4 separate regions of the Homo sapiens genome follow, and regions 1, 3 and 4 are each linked to region 2. The links are contacts of gene promoters, found by promoter capture Hi-C in blood cells and fetal thymus (Javierre and others, 2016). All regions are on one chromosome and are shown on one strand. Each heading gives the region's core, a stretch centred on a gene start or on the middle of the fragment in contact. The rest is flanking DNA. Distances are from core to core; before and after follow the strand shown.

The links. The method cuts DNA at HindIII sites, captures the fragments that hold promoters and counts their contacts. A CHiCAGO score of 5 or more calls a contact.
Region 1: a contact is called between a fragment that was not itself captured here and the fragment with the promoter of FAM98B in region 2, in 4 of 17 cell types (total B cells, non-activated CD4 T cells, naive CD4 T cells and 1 more). The highest score is 7.9, in total B cells.
Region 3: a fragment that was not itself captured here is called in contact with the fragment with the promoter of FAM98B in region 2 in 5 of 17 cell types (total CD4 T cells, non-activated CD4 T cells, naive CD4 T cells and 2 more); the score reaches 5.8 in total CD4 T cells.
Region 4: the fragment with the promoter of EMC7 here is called in contact with the fragment with the promoter of FAM98B in region 2 in 1 of 17 cell types (non-activated CD4 T cells); the score reaches 5.3 in non-activated CD4 T cells.

What each region holds. Positions count from the first base shown.
Region 1 is chr15:34,221,927-34,225,003 of GRCh38, reverse strand. No RefSeq gene overlaps it. Among named protein-coding and RNA genes, the nearest start is that of EMC4, 1.6 kb to the left of the region's middle. The HindIII fragment of the contact is 1,916 bases long and covers 493-2,408 here.
Region 2 is chr15:38,452,826-38,455,980 of GRCh38, reverse strand. It overlaps FAM98B (family with sequence similarity 98 member B), which reads right to left and starts at 1,854. Exons shown (of 8, transcript NM_173611.4): 1 at 1,749-1,854. The coding sequence starts at 1,819. RefSeq lists enhancers at 1,437-1,536, 1,597-1,706. The HindIII fragment of the contact is 3,660 bases long and covers 760-3,155 here.
Region 3 is chr15:34,979,043-34,982,372 of GRCh38, reverse strand. It overlaps ZNF770 (zinc finger protein 770), which reads left to right. Exons shown (of 3, transcript NM_014106.4): 3 at 1-3,330. The coding sequence ends at 1,014. Among named protein-coding and RNA genes, the nearest start is that of ZNF770, 7.6 kb to the left of the region's middle. The HindIII fragment of the contact is 3,691 bases long and covers 1-3,330 here.
Region 4 is chr15:34,100,499-34,103,521 of GRCh38, reverse strand. It overlaps EMC7 (ER membrane protein complex subunit 7), which reads left to right and starts at 1,660. Exons shown (of 5, transcript NM_020154.3): 1 at 1,660-1,918. The coding sequence starts at 1,683. PGBD4 (piggyBac transposable element derived 4) reads right to left here and starts at 1,439. Exons shown (of 1, transcript NM_152595.5): 1 at 1-1,439. The coding sequence starts at 990. RefSeq lists enhancers at 1,230-1,319, 1,350-2,049, 1,659-2,516. The HindIII fragment of the contact is 6,792 bases long and covers 1-3,023 here.

The sequences.
Region 1 (3,077 bases), core at 201-2,700, 4.2 Mb after region 2:
TGAATACGACGTCATTTCCGCCCTGGAAATTGGTGGTGCTGTGGGTTGAGGAGTCCGGGTTTGGATTTAGAAAAGCAGGGAGGAAAAAAAACCAGGCAAGACTTAGTGCTTCCTAAAGCCACTTCCGCGCGCTCCCCTTTTGAATGTCCTTGTTATGTGTTCCCTGACCTCTGAGGTGCACTTTATGGGGCTGAAGGAAAGCCCATACTGACTCAGCGTTAAGAATTGGTGGGCGGATCACCTGAAGTCAGGAGTTCGAGACCAGCCTGGCTAACATGGTGAAACCCCGTCTCTACTAAAAATACAAAATATTAGCCGGGCTTAGTGGCGGGCGCCTGTAATCCCAGCTACTTAGGAGGCTGAGGCAGGAGAATCGCTTGGATCCGGGAGCCGGAGGTTGCAGTGAACTGAGACCGAGCGATTGCACGCCAGCCTGGGCAGCAAGAGCGAAACTCTGTCTCAAAAAAAAAAAAAAGGAAGCCAAGAAAAGCTTCTTAACCTCCTACGCGCTCCCTGGAACAAAAGATTCAAATCCTGGGTTTAAATCCTAGCTTGACCTTGAGCGAGTTACTTAGTAGTTTCTGAGTATTGAATGTCCACTGTGTCATGTGTTTATTTCATTTCACTTGCACAGTAACCTTGCGAGGTAAACAGTTCTAACCACATTCTGCACAAAGGCAAGGCAGCATTGTGGGCATGGAAGGGGACATGGGCTCGGTATTCAGTTAGCCTGCGTTTGTTGTTGTTTGTTTTGGGTTTGTTTTTTGAGACAGGGTTTCACTCCGTTGCCGAGGCTGTAGTGCAGTGGCGCTATCACGGCTCACTGCAGCCTCGACTTCCCCGGCTCAAGCGATCTTCCCACCTGAGCGTTCCTTCCAACCTGAGCGTTCCGAGGAGCTAGGACCACAGGGCGCGCCACCACGCCCCAGTCTTGTTTTGTTTTGTTTTGTTTTGTTTTGACAGGGTTTCGCTATGTTGCTCAGGCTGCTCTCAAACTCTTGGGTTCAAGTGATTCTCCTGCCTTGGCCTCCCAAAATGTTGAGATTACAAAGGCATGGGCCACTGCACCCAGCAGATGGCCTCCTTTTGAATCCTGGTTTCACCACTTAATAATTGTATGACCTTGGGCAAGTTGAATTTGTTTCAGCCTCTTCATGTAAAAGTTGGATAATCTACCTACTTTCAAGGCTTGTGAGATTAGTGCCCACCACATATCTGGTGTTTGGTTTGTTTGTGTTTTTGTTCGAGACGGAGTTTTGCTTTTGTTGCCCAGGCTGGAGTGCAATGGCACTATCTCGGCTCACTGCAACCTCCGTCTCCCGGGTTCAAGCAATTCTCCTGCCTCAGCCTCCCGAGTACCAGGGATTACAGGCGCACGCCACCACGTCCAGCTAATTTTGTATTTTTAGTAGAGATGGGATTTCACCGTGTTGGTCAGGCTGGTTTCGAACTCCCGACCTCAGGTGATCTGCCTGCCTCGGCCTCCCAAAGTGCTAGGTTATGTGGTGTTTTTAATGATGTATCACATCATTACCAAATAACACCATTGATGTGTTTTTAATGACGTGTCATTAAATAATGTATGTCATTCTTTAAAGTGATTGGGTTTTGTATGGTATACCTTTTTCATAATATAGCCTATTATTGGACATTTAAATTGTTTCCTGTTTTCCTTCCTTTTATAACCAGTGTTGCTGTGAACATATCTGTATGTCTTTTCTTATTTCCTAAAGTTATAGTCCTAGAAGTGAAATTGGAGTTGCTGGATCAAAGAGTATGCACATTTTTAAAGAATTTTCATTTTAAATGCCCACAGGAGCCAGGCGTGGTGGCTCACACCTGTCATCCCAGAACTTTGGGAGGCTGAGGCAGGAGGATTGCTTTAGCTCAGAAGTTCAAGACCAGCCTAGGCAACATAGTGAGACCTTGCCTCTGCAAACAACAACAAAAAAAATTAAAATGTCCACTAGGAAAAATGGCACCATTTACATTTCACAGTCTATAATTTTTTTAATAGTTTGAAATGGTACTGTATTATTTTTTAATTTGTATTTCTTTGACTCCAAGTTATTCGATATGGCTGGAGTTAGGGGGAAGGAGATGCTGTGGGAGGTAAGGTTGAAAAAGGCTTCCTTGGCCAACAAAAAAGTTGGGACTCTTGAAGATGATGATGATGTAAGAGAGGCTGAAGATTGCCACCTCCACTTTATTTTCTGATTTTAAAAATATGTGTTCATAGCAGACTACTTAAACAAGGCAGAAATGGAAGTCTTTTGCCTCTCCAATCCATCCTAAAATGTGTATCTATCTGATTGTAGGAAGACCTAACTATAGATTGTGTTTCTGCTCCTTTCTACTTTTTGTCTTTACCACGTTCTGTCTCATGAACCTTATATTTATCTCAAGCTTCTGACCCTATTGGGCATTCTTCTTTGTTGCATTATATGCTGCATAATAGCACTTACCACATTGCATTTTGTTTGTTAAAGTCCCCTGAGCACTTATTTCTACCCCTCTATAGGCAACCCTAAATCCCCCCAGGTCAGAAGCTATATATTATCTTTGAGCCTGTTGCCTAGAACATAGAAAGTACTGAATAAATGTTTAGCGAATGTGAGTAAATTAAATTGAAAGTAAACAAACACCAAGATGTGAATGTACTATAACTACACTTGTGCAAAATAAAACATAAAAATGGATATACATTCTATTGGGGCAATAATTTTCACGCAATTTTGTCTAATTTTCAAGATAATCTTATTACACTTTTCTTTTTTTTTTTTGAGACAGAGTCTCACTCTGTCACCGAGGCTGAAGTGCAGTGGCACGATCTTGGCTCACTGCATCCTCTGCCTCCCAGGTTCAAGCAATTTTCCTGTCTCAGCCTCCTGAGTAGCTGGGATTACAGGTGCCCGCCACCACGCCCTGTTCATTTTTGTATTTTTAGTAGAAATGGGGTTTCACTGTGTTGGCCAGGCTAGTCTCAAACTCCTGACCTCAGGTGATCCACCCACCTCGCCCACGCAAAGTGATGATTACAGGCATAAGCCACTACACCTGGCCTTCTTATTACATTT
Region 2 (3,155 bases), core at 605-3,104:
AAATAACTACTTTTTTCACATCGTATTATCATAGGAGAATTCAAACTTCAAAATGTTGCCCTCATAGTTATTCCAGGAAAAACTAATTTTGGAGTGTGTAAACTGTTTTACTTTCCATGTTGAATAATCTGACTAATTTTCCTTGATAAAAATCAAGATTATAGCAATGAATTTTCTAAAACACTTATAATATGAACAATAAGTTCAAGAAATGAAGAAAGAAGAAAAGCACTGCCTTTTCCTTTTTCATAAACCATTTATGAGTTCCCAATATTCTTACCTGAAGTACTTGGGAGCTCAAACTGTTTGGAGCCTAAATAATTCTACTAAGTATTTTCAGTTCTTGTTTTGGTTCCTTCTTAACCAAGTTAAGTGAGAACTTCCAAGGGACTTCACAGAAGTAAAAATGCCCCCTAAATAATCAATGGCACTGTTCTTTCGTTTGACAAATATGTATTCACGATCTACTAAGTGCAAGACTCCGTAACCCTGGGTCACTGCAAAGTAGGTATTATCAGGGTTCAACTAAAGAAACAATTGATAGAGGGGCAAATGCAGTTTTAGAGAAGATAAAGTGGGGTGTGGGATTGGTTCAAGCTTCATAATAACGCTGCAAAGGCACAGCTTCCCCTATCAAGAAACAGCAGCACGTAGCAGGGCAAACAAATGTGCAGATGGCTCCAAGCTCTTTATTTAATGTGCACTGTATGACTCAACTATCTGGTCCTATGCTTACTGCTGTGGACTCTTCTCTAAGCTTTTCTTCATTCATTTACTCATTCATTCAACCACTATTTACTGTAAAAGACTCCGTTCTAGTGTGTTGCTGGGAAAACATCGGTGAATAAAATATGCAAAGCATCAGTTTTCCAGGAGCTGACTTGGGGAGGAGGAGGAATAAAACGAGGGAGAAGCAGAGTTCAAGAGACAAATGAATGGGCAGGACATGATAATTTGGGATGGGGACAAGAGCTGTGTGGAAAAAAACAGGATGAGGTTGAGGGGGAGATTACGAACCACCACACTTGTTAAGTATTAACATTACTCCCACCTCCACCCTGAGTTCTCACAGCACTTACCATTCTGCACTGTAAATACCAGCCGGCAGCAGACTTGCAGCCTGCGCGACTATGTAAGCCAAGAGTAATCTGAAAAACTATCCTTTTCCCTTGCCTAGGGGAAATTTACAAACGTAAATATGTGTAAATTAATATACAAGCTAATATACACGTTGACGAACGGACGAAATGGTTGAAAGAACGAACTCGCAATGAACTACAACACTTTCTCCGGTCAAAGTAAAAGCCATTCGCTCCAGAGCCCCAAGTAAGCCACAAGTTGTACATTGTAGGAGACAACAGTCCTCAACAGCAGCTCAGGTTCCAGCACCTCCCTCCGGGCGCCAGAACTACGTCAACACAAATATCACCTGCGGGCGCGAGCTAGCCCAGAAAACCGGTGCTAGAAGGGCCGCTCCGCGCCACCCGGCGGATTCCTGCAACAGAGTTTCGAGGCAAGAAGTTTCGAAGAGGGGGCCACGAACCCCAGCTCTCCGGCCCTGCTCCACCCCCCAAATAGATTTCTCTCCCGCCTCCCGCTTAACTCCGTCGGCGCCGGAGGGATCGAGGCAGGGAAGGAGGCCTACACATGGCCGCCCAGGCCCACAGAGGCCCAAGGGAAGTAGGCTAAGCAGCCAGGCCAAGGAGAGGTTGCGTTTTCAGGGAAAAGGCGTCTCCAAAAGCACTCACCCCAGCGCCTCCAGTGTGTCCAGCACGTCTCCCTCCATCGTCGGTTGGGGACCCGGCTCCGGCCCTCTCATGGTCCTTTGGCCCAGAGCTGTTCGGCGCTCTAAGTAGCCCGCCGGAAACTAGCGTCACCGCGCCAAGGTTCCGGTCCGGGTCTGGCCGGTAACTGCCTGAGAGCACAGCTGAAGAAGGGCGCAAAGGTTCCCAGCCCCGAGGCAATAAACACTTCATAGTGCCTAAAACCGCTGCGTGTAACGATAATAATTTTTTAAAAGAATAGTAGAAATAATAAATAATAGTAATAAAGAGTTCTCTGTGTTGGGACTTTTCTGTGTGTTCAAATAAATTTTAGCAAATATCGTGGTATCGGGTTGATCTCAACCTATCCGATTCCAGACCTTTTTAATAACAGAAATCTGAAATAAAATTATAATTATCTTCAGCTAAAATTAGTAACTAATATCACATGCCTACACATATAATTTTTAAATCAATATACACGACGATGCTTCAACTTGAAGGAAAAAATGAAGTAATTTATAACAAGGTAATATTTTTCTCCTTATGAAATGCGGAAGACCAATGAAGTGATCAGATGCTTGCATCTATCTATGTAGAATCCCCTCAACTGCATATTCAGATGATGTGCTTCATTGCTGACAAAGCATTAGTTGTATAAGCAACAAACATACCGCCAGCAAAGTAAGGTAGTTGATGTGGTTTTCCAAAATTGTGGCGAATTCTCTGTAAAGTTCCAAACAAACAAAACATAATATACCCTCTGTGTACTATCCATGAAGAATTCAATCTCTTATCTAAAGGATTTAAAAAATGTATTTTAGGGTTCATATGTAAAAGGTACTAAGAGTATAAGGTTAGATCATTATTAGCAGGCATGTCACCTACATGAATACTCTAGCAGAACTGTTGGAAATCCTGCATGAAGTATAACTATTGATCCCTTGTATGGACCTGTCCCTTCCATTGCAGACTACATAGCATTCGTAGCCCCAGTCCAATAAAGACCAGTAATGCTCTCGCCTTCCTAATTATGGTTACAAACAAAAAGCATACCCATAAATGTGTAAAACACTCAAAGGTAAGCTGTAGTAGTCCACTCTCATATTGCTATAAAGATATACCTGAGACTGGGTAATTTATAAAGAAAAGGGGTTTAATTGGCTCATGGTTCCACAGGCTGTACACGAAGCATGATGCTGGCATCTGCTCCACTCCTGGGGAGGCCTCAGGAAATGGACAGTTGTGGCAGAAGGGGAAGGGGGAGTGCAGCTATCACGTGGCCGGAGTAAGAGGAAGAGAGAGGGTGCAGGGAGGCAGGGAGGTGCCACACACTTTTTTTTTTTTTTTCAGTCTCGCACTGTCGCCCAGGCTAGAGTGCAGTGGCATGAT
Region 3 (3,330 bases), core at 563-3,062, 3.5 Mb after region 2:
CAATCTGAGAAAAAAGTATTTAAAAAGAGTTTCTTGAGAAATTGTGATCTTATTTCTGGTGAGCAGAGCTCTGAACAAACCCAGAGAACATTTGTGGGTTCTCTTGGCAAACATGGAACATATAAAACAATTGGCAATAGAAAGAAGAAAACATTGACTTTGCCATTTTCTTGGCAAAATATGGGAAAAAATTTGAAAGGCATCCTTACGACAGAAAACATATTAAGCATTGATAATTCAGTGAATAAGAAAGACTTGTCAATCTGTGGTTCATCAGGTGAGGAATTCTTTAATAACTGTGAGGTACTTCAGTGTGGTTTTTCAGTTCCAAGGGAAAACATACGTACTAGACATAAGATATGTCCTTGTGACAAATGTGAGAAGGTATTTCCTTCTATATCCAAACTAAAAAGACACTATTTAATTCATACTGGACAGAGGCCCTTTGGCTGTAATATTTGTGGGAAATCTTTTAGACAGTCAGCTCACTTAAAAAGACATGAACAGACTCATAATGAAAAGAGTCCTTATGCATCTCTTTGCCAAGTAGAATTTGGAAACTTCAACAATCTTTCTAATCATTCAGGTAATAATGTTAACTATAATGCTTCCCAACAATGTCAGGCTCCTGGTGTTCAAAAATACGAGGTCTCAGAGTCAGATCAAATGTCAGGAGTTAAGGCAGAGTCACAGGATTTTATTCCTGGTAGCACCGGGCAACCCTGTCTTCCTAATGTACTTTTGGAATCAGAGCAAAGCAATCCTTTTTGCAGTTATTCAGAGCATCAGGAGAAAAATGATGTCTTCCTGTACCGATGCAGTGTTTGTGCTAAAAGTTTCCGATCTCCATCTAAACTGGAAAGACACTACCTAATTCATGCAGGGCAGAAACCATTTGAATGCTCAGTTTGTGGCAAAACATTCAGACAGGCTCCTCACTGGAAGAGACATCAGCTTACTCACTTTAAAGAACGACCACAAGGGAAAGTGGTTGCCTTAGATTCGGTTATGTAAATTGTCGCAACCACTAACAATTGTGGTCTCTGGTGATCTTATTTTTAAAGCCTGTATTATTTAAAATGCATTTTTATTGAAAGGCCTGCATTAAACTGAATGGTTTCACAGGCATTTGCTTGTCCTGCATAGTAAGGAGGTAGAATACATAGAAAATTAATACAATGTTTTAGAAACAGCCAAGTTAATTTTAGAGGCAAGAACATGATTTGATGCTATAAAGTAGGCATTTTAATATTGTAAACATATACTTTGGCTGTATTGAAAAATATAAATCCATGATGGCTGTACAAATAATTTAGCCTCATTCATTTTTTAAAGGAATTATTCCTTAAGACATGCCATCTCTTTTTAGATATACTCAAAAGACTGAGAGGCAAAACTTGGCTTTTAGCTGCAGCACATAGCCCTGTTATATTTGATTTATTTTACATTTCATATGAAAGCATAATTTTGTCCACATGTGACTCAAATTGCATTGGTAATTTTTTTTTTTTTTTTGTAAGTTAAAAAAACTACAGAGACACTAAAGGTGAAAATGGATGAGACAATTATAGTATTATTTTCATTGGTCTTTTTTTTTGAGATGGAGTCTCACTCTTTCGCCAGGCTAGAGTGCAGTGGCGCCATCTAGGCTCACTGCAACCTCCGCATCCCAGATTCCAGCGATTCTCCTGCCTCAGCCTCCTGAGTAGCTGGGATTACAGGTGCCTGCCATCACGCCTGGCTAATTTTTGTATTTTTAGTAGAGACGGGGGTTCACCAAGTTGGCCAGGATGGTCTCGATCTCTTGACCTTGTGACTCACCCGCATCGGCCTCCCAAAGTGCTGGGATTACAGGCATGAGCCACCGCACCCGACGGTCTTTTCAAAGCTATTTATTTTTAGGACTATGTGGTAATTTCACCTTCAGGTGATAAGGATTTTTTTTTTCTCCCAGCTAGTGCTATCTTTCTCAAAATAATTTAAAAGTAGGCGAGAGGCTAGGATGTACCTATATTTACCATGTTTACTTACCAGGAATATTTTCTAAGTGCCATAGTCTTTTTCATAATACGTATGAGTTTTACCTTTTCAGAGGAATAATTTCAAGTCATTTATTTGCTCATTAATGATAGCAGTAGTCATAGACTTAAGACTATTCTAGAGATCTTCATCTCCATAAGACTTTTACATTTATTTTAGTAAACTTTTCTTTCTATGCCTCTTTAATGGAGTGGTTCTGTTATTTAAGCCTGTTCTAAGTTTGATCAAATGGCAATGACTAGGTCTAGTTTTAGTTTTTATTTTTGCAGGAGTCTATTGCTAAAGAATTTTATTTTGATGCTTGTTAAATTTTTATTTTAATTAATAAGGTAGTCATTCCTGTAGAGGGATAAGATGCTTGTAGAGTTGTGGGTATCATTCCAAATAGAACTGTTATGATTTGGGAAATATTCTTTACTACAAAGGACTTATTTCATAATTACAAATTTTCCTTCATATTTGCCTTTGTTTATAAAATCTTCAGGAATGACATTCTCTAGCAATAAAAGGAATGAACCGTTATGTTTCTAAGCTGAAAAGAGGAACAGGTGGGTAATTATCCTGCCATACTTAAATATAGTGGAAAATCCTCTATTGAGAATGTGGATAAATGAACAATTGTAAGTTTTGCATCATAAACTGAGAACTTTCTTTTGACAGGGGGGAGGCGGGAGGGATAGTAGGTGGGGGTGATCTGCTTGCTTCTTTTACCACAGGTGATTTTTAAGTAACTTGGGTTTAATTTACAGAGATGAAACATGACAGTCTGAGTAAAATACCCAGTGATGTAGAAGTGTGCCTGTTTATTATGTAGATACAGACATCCAGCAAAAACAGGAGAATCACATGCTTTAAAGAACACTTTCTCTTAGGTTTCCTTGAGATATGTTCCTCCAGTGCAAGCAAGATAATGGTTTACAGAATTTGCTTTACACAAAACTTGTCAAGAACTCATCTGTTAAAAGCAAGGAATAACTAGTTTATATTTTCCAATAATGTTCAAGGTTTTCTCCTTAATATGTTTGAAATTATTGATTTTGGCATTTTTCTAAGCAATTTATGTAATTTTATTTGAAGAAAATGTTTTGTATAATGTTTTTCCCAGCCTAAACAGGGAGAGTCCTAACAGTGTTGTGCTTGTATGATTCTGAGACTTTATTTGCGTAAGTGATACTACTATACTTTATTTTTGACCCATGCCTTTTTAAGCTGTTTCATATTGAAAGGTGGAATATTGTAAAAATTTTGTCAAAGATGTACTGTAGTGCTATTTGAAGTACCTGTAACAAA
Region 4 (3,023 bases), core at 411-2,910, 4.4 Mb after region 2:
GAGGAAGACACAATACCCTTGGCCAAGAAGGTCATTGACCAAGGTAAGAACAATGCGTGATGATTTCAGGCCATCCGCTGAATCTTTCAAATTCATGCCAGGCCCTGTGTGAACAAGCGCATTCCACACATAACCAGACTGACTTTCACAAAGTACATATAGCTTCAGACCAAATCGTACTCGTTTTGTCGGGAGGTACTGCTTCATAGCTAATGGCCCCTTGAACAGCATCAGTGATTCATCAACTGCAATGTTTCTGTTTGGAGTATATACAGTGGAAAATTTATTTACAAGAAAGTCGAACACAGGTTTGATCTTCTGCAATGAAATCTGGGCCTTTGATTGACCAGCAGATATAGAAGAATTGTTGACAAAATGCAGGCACCGAAACAAAAGTAAAAATCTTTCACCAGTCATAATTTGCCTGAGATAAGGTGTATCCAAAAGAGGCCTTGTTGACCAAAACATCTCCAGCTCAGGTTTCTGCACAATACCTTGCAGTAACATTACTGCAAAAAAGACTTTGAGCTCGTCATTGTCAGTGTCTTTCCATTTATCCATTCGCGAAAATCCTTTCGGACCCGGTGGCTTTGAAGCCAACAAGGCAGCTTGGGCATTTGTTTCTCTAGTAATTTTTGAAACTAATTCCTCAGTAAAGAACAGTTCAAAATACTGCAATGGGTCAGTGATATCACTGACATCGACTTTTCTGCCAGGTGTGCCGGTAAAGTCATACCTTTGACGTGGAATCATAGCACGAGCTGACCATTTCATGGAGCGCCCTGAGTCACTTGATGTAGAGCTCTTTCCATCAGATTCTAAATGGGACAGAGGCCTGATCTTATCGGCTTCTAAAGCACTATCCGAAAAATTATCAGAATCATCTATTTCCGAAAAATCAGATTCATCAAATGAATCTTCAGCCAACAACTGTTCGAGACCGGTATTACTATCACGCATAGGAATGCTACGTTTTCTAGGATTTGACATTTCAGCGATCGAGAATTACTATATTTTGTAGATGGAAATCCCACTACTAAAAACAGAATGCTATAAACAGAATGATGTCTTTTGTTTCAAAAGTCAATATACCAGAACCATGCGAAAATAACAGAAGCGAGATATTTCGTGGCAAACTTTGGGAGTAAGGTTGGCACTGTAATCCACGAGTTATCTCGGCGTAAACGCTGCAGTCGCAGGCACAGCAGCGCGTAATCTCGGGGCTAAGGAGAAATGAGTTAAACGCACACAGACAGAAGAAGCCTTTCATCTCATACGTCTTGGGGAGTCTCTAGAAGTTTTTTGAAAGGTCTCTTCTGGATGGTGTTTCTCCCGAAGCCAGTCTCGTCATCTTTTACTCCCGTGAGGTCCTTGGCCTCCGTGGCTGCCGCAGCAACACACACTTGACTTTCACTTCATGGGCAGTCCCCTTCATAGGCACTTGACACAGGCTCTGTGCGCCGTCTTCCAATCCAGAGTGCCGGGAGTTAAGGGCAGTACTTCCGCCTTACTTCCGCCTCGCTAGTCGATCGGCCATGATCTCTTCCCTCTGGTTGGATCCCACAGCTTATGACAGAAACGGGCGCGCAGTGATGACAACATCAAGCCGCCAGCGGCGGCGGTGGCGGCCGGGAGACTGGGAGGGCTTCCGGGGCTGCCGGTCTGAGTGCAGAGCTGCTGTCATGGCGGCCGCTCTGTGGGGCTTCTTTCCCGTCCTGCTGCTGCTGCTGCTATCGGGGGATGTCCAGAGCTCGGAGGTGCCCGGGGCTGCTGCTGAGGGATCGGGAGGGAGTGGGGTCGGCATAGGAGATCGCTTCAAGATTGAGGGGCGTGCAGTTGTTCCAGGGGTGAAGCCTCAGGACTGGATCTCGGCGGCCCGAGTGCTGGTAGACGGAGAAGAGCACGTCGGTTTCCTTAAGTGAGCATCCTGAGGGCAGCGGGAAAAAGGCTGGGATGGAGGCCGGACAGGGACCCCACCAGGAGAGTTAAGTGTCAGGACGGGACAACGTCGCTGTCTCAGACTGAAGGGGAGGGTGCCGCTAACGGTCTATGCCGGGAGACCTTGGGAGGCAGTCGGATGCTTTCCCTTTCCTGGTCCTGTACCTCTGGAATGAGCATGGCAGGCGCTCACCCCCTGCCATGGTCAGAGCATGGAGTCAGTTATTTCCAACCTTATTTTGGCCCCATGTGGGGACGATCATTCCTGGGCCCTGGGGACAGGTGGACCCTTATTAGTCTCTTGTTGGATTCTTTTATATCTCATCTGGTTTCCCTAGAACCTAGTCGTTTTTTGCATTCACTTCAGTCTTTTGGTAGCTTGTTATTATGTAGAAAGATGCGACACAAGTGGGAATTCTCAAAACCCAAAGGGCTTCTAGTGACGACATAGACTGGGAGGCTAATGTTACTGCTTCTAAAATTAATAGGCTCTGAAATCCCTAATCAAAGCACTTTTTTTTTCTTTTTTTTTTTGCTTGGGGGTGGGATCGTTGTTCTTTTTTACAGTTGAATTCATCGAGAGATTTGCTATATCACACTTGTCATTTATGTGAGACTAGGGTTCCTCTACATTGCTTTCTTGCTTCTGTCCTTTCATGCTATTAGTGGAAGTGGGTTTTCTGTCTATATTAAAAGACAGGATGAATTTGTTAGCACTAGTTTTGCAGCAGCCTGCTTTTGAAATGTCTAGGCACGCGTATGTTGTTTTAAATCTTTCCACCCTTACTTGGAGGTGAAACTGTAAACTGAAAGCAAATAATTAGGAAGTATTTCCTTTGGTGGGTTCGTACACCAGCAAATGGTATCTGAAAATCAGACAACTTAAATGTAGACATTTAAATCCAAATCTGATTTACATATTTGTTCAGATCATCTAAGTGCCCTTGAGTGGTTATTCAACCTCAGATTAATAAATAGTGACAAATTTACAACCAGTATTTTACTGCTGTCTGTCATTAAGAATCTGGCATTAGGGCATTCGTTAGAGTTTACCCTAATTAATGATGTTTTAATGATAAAGTTCT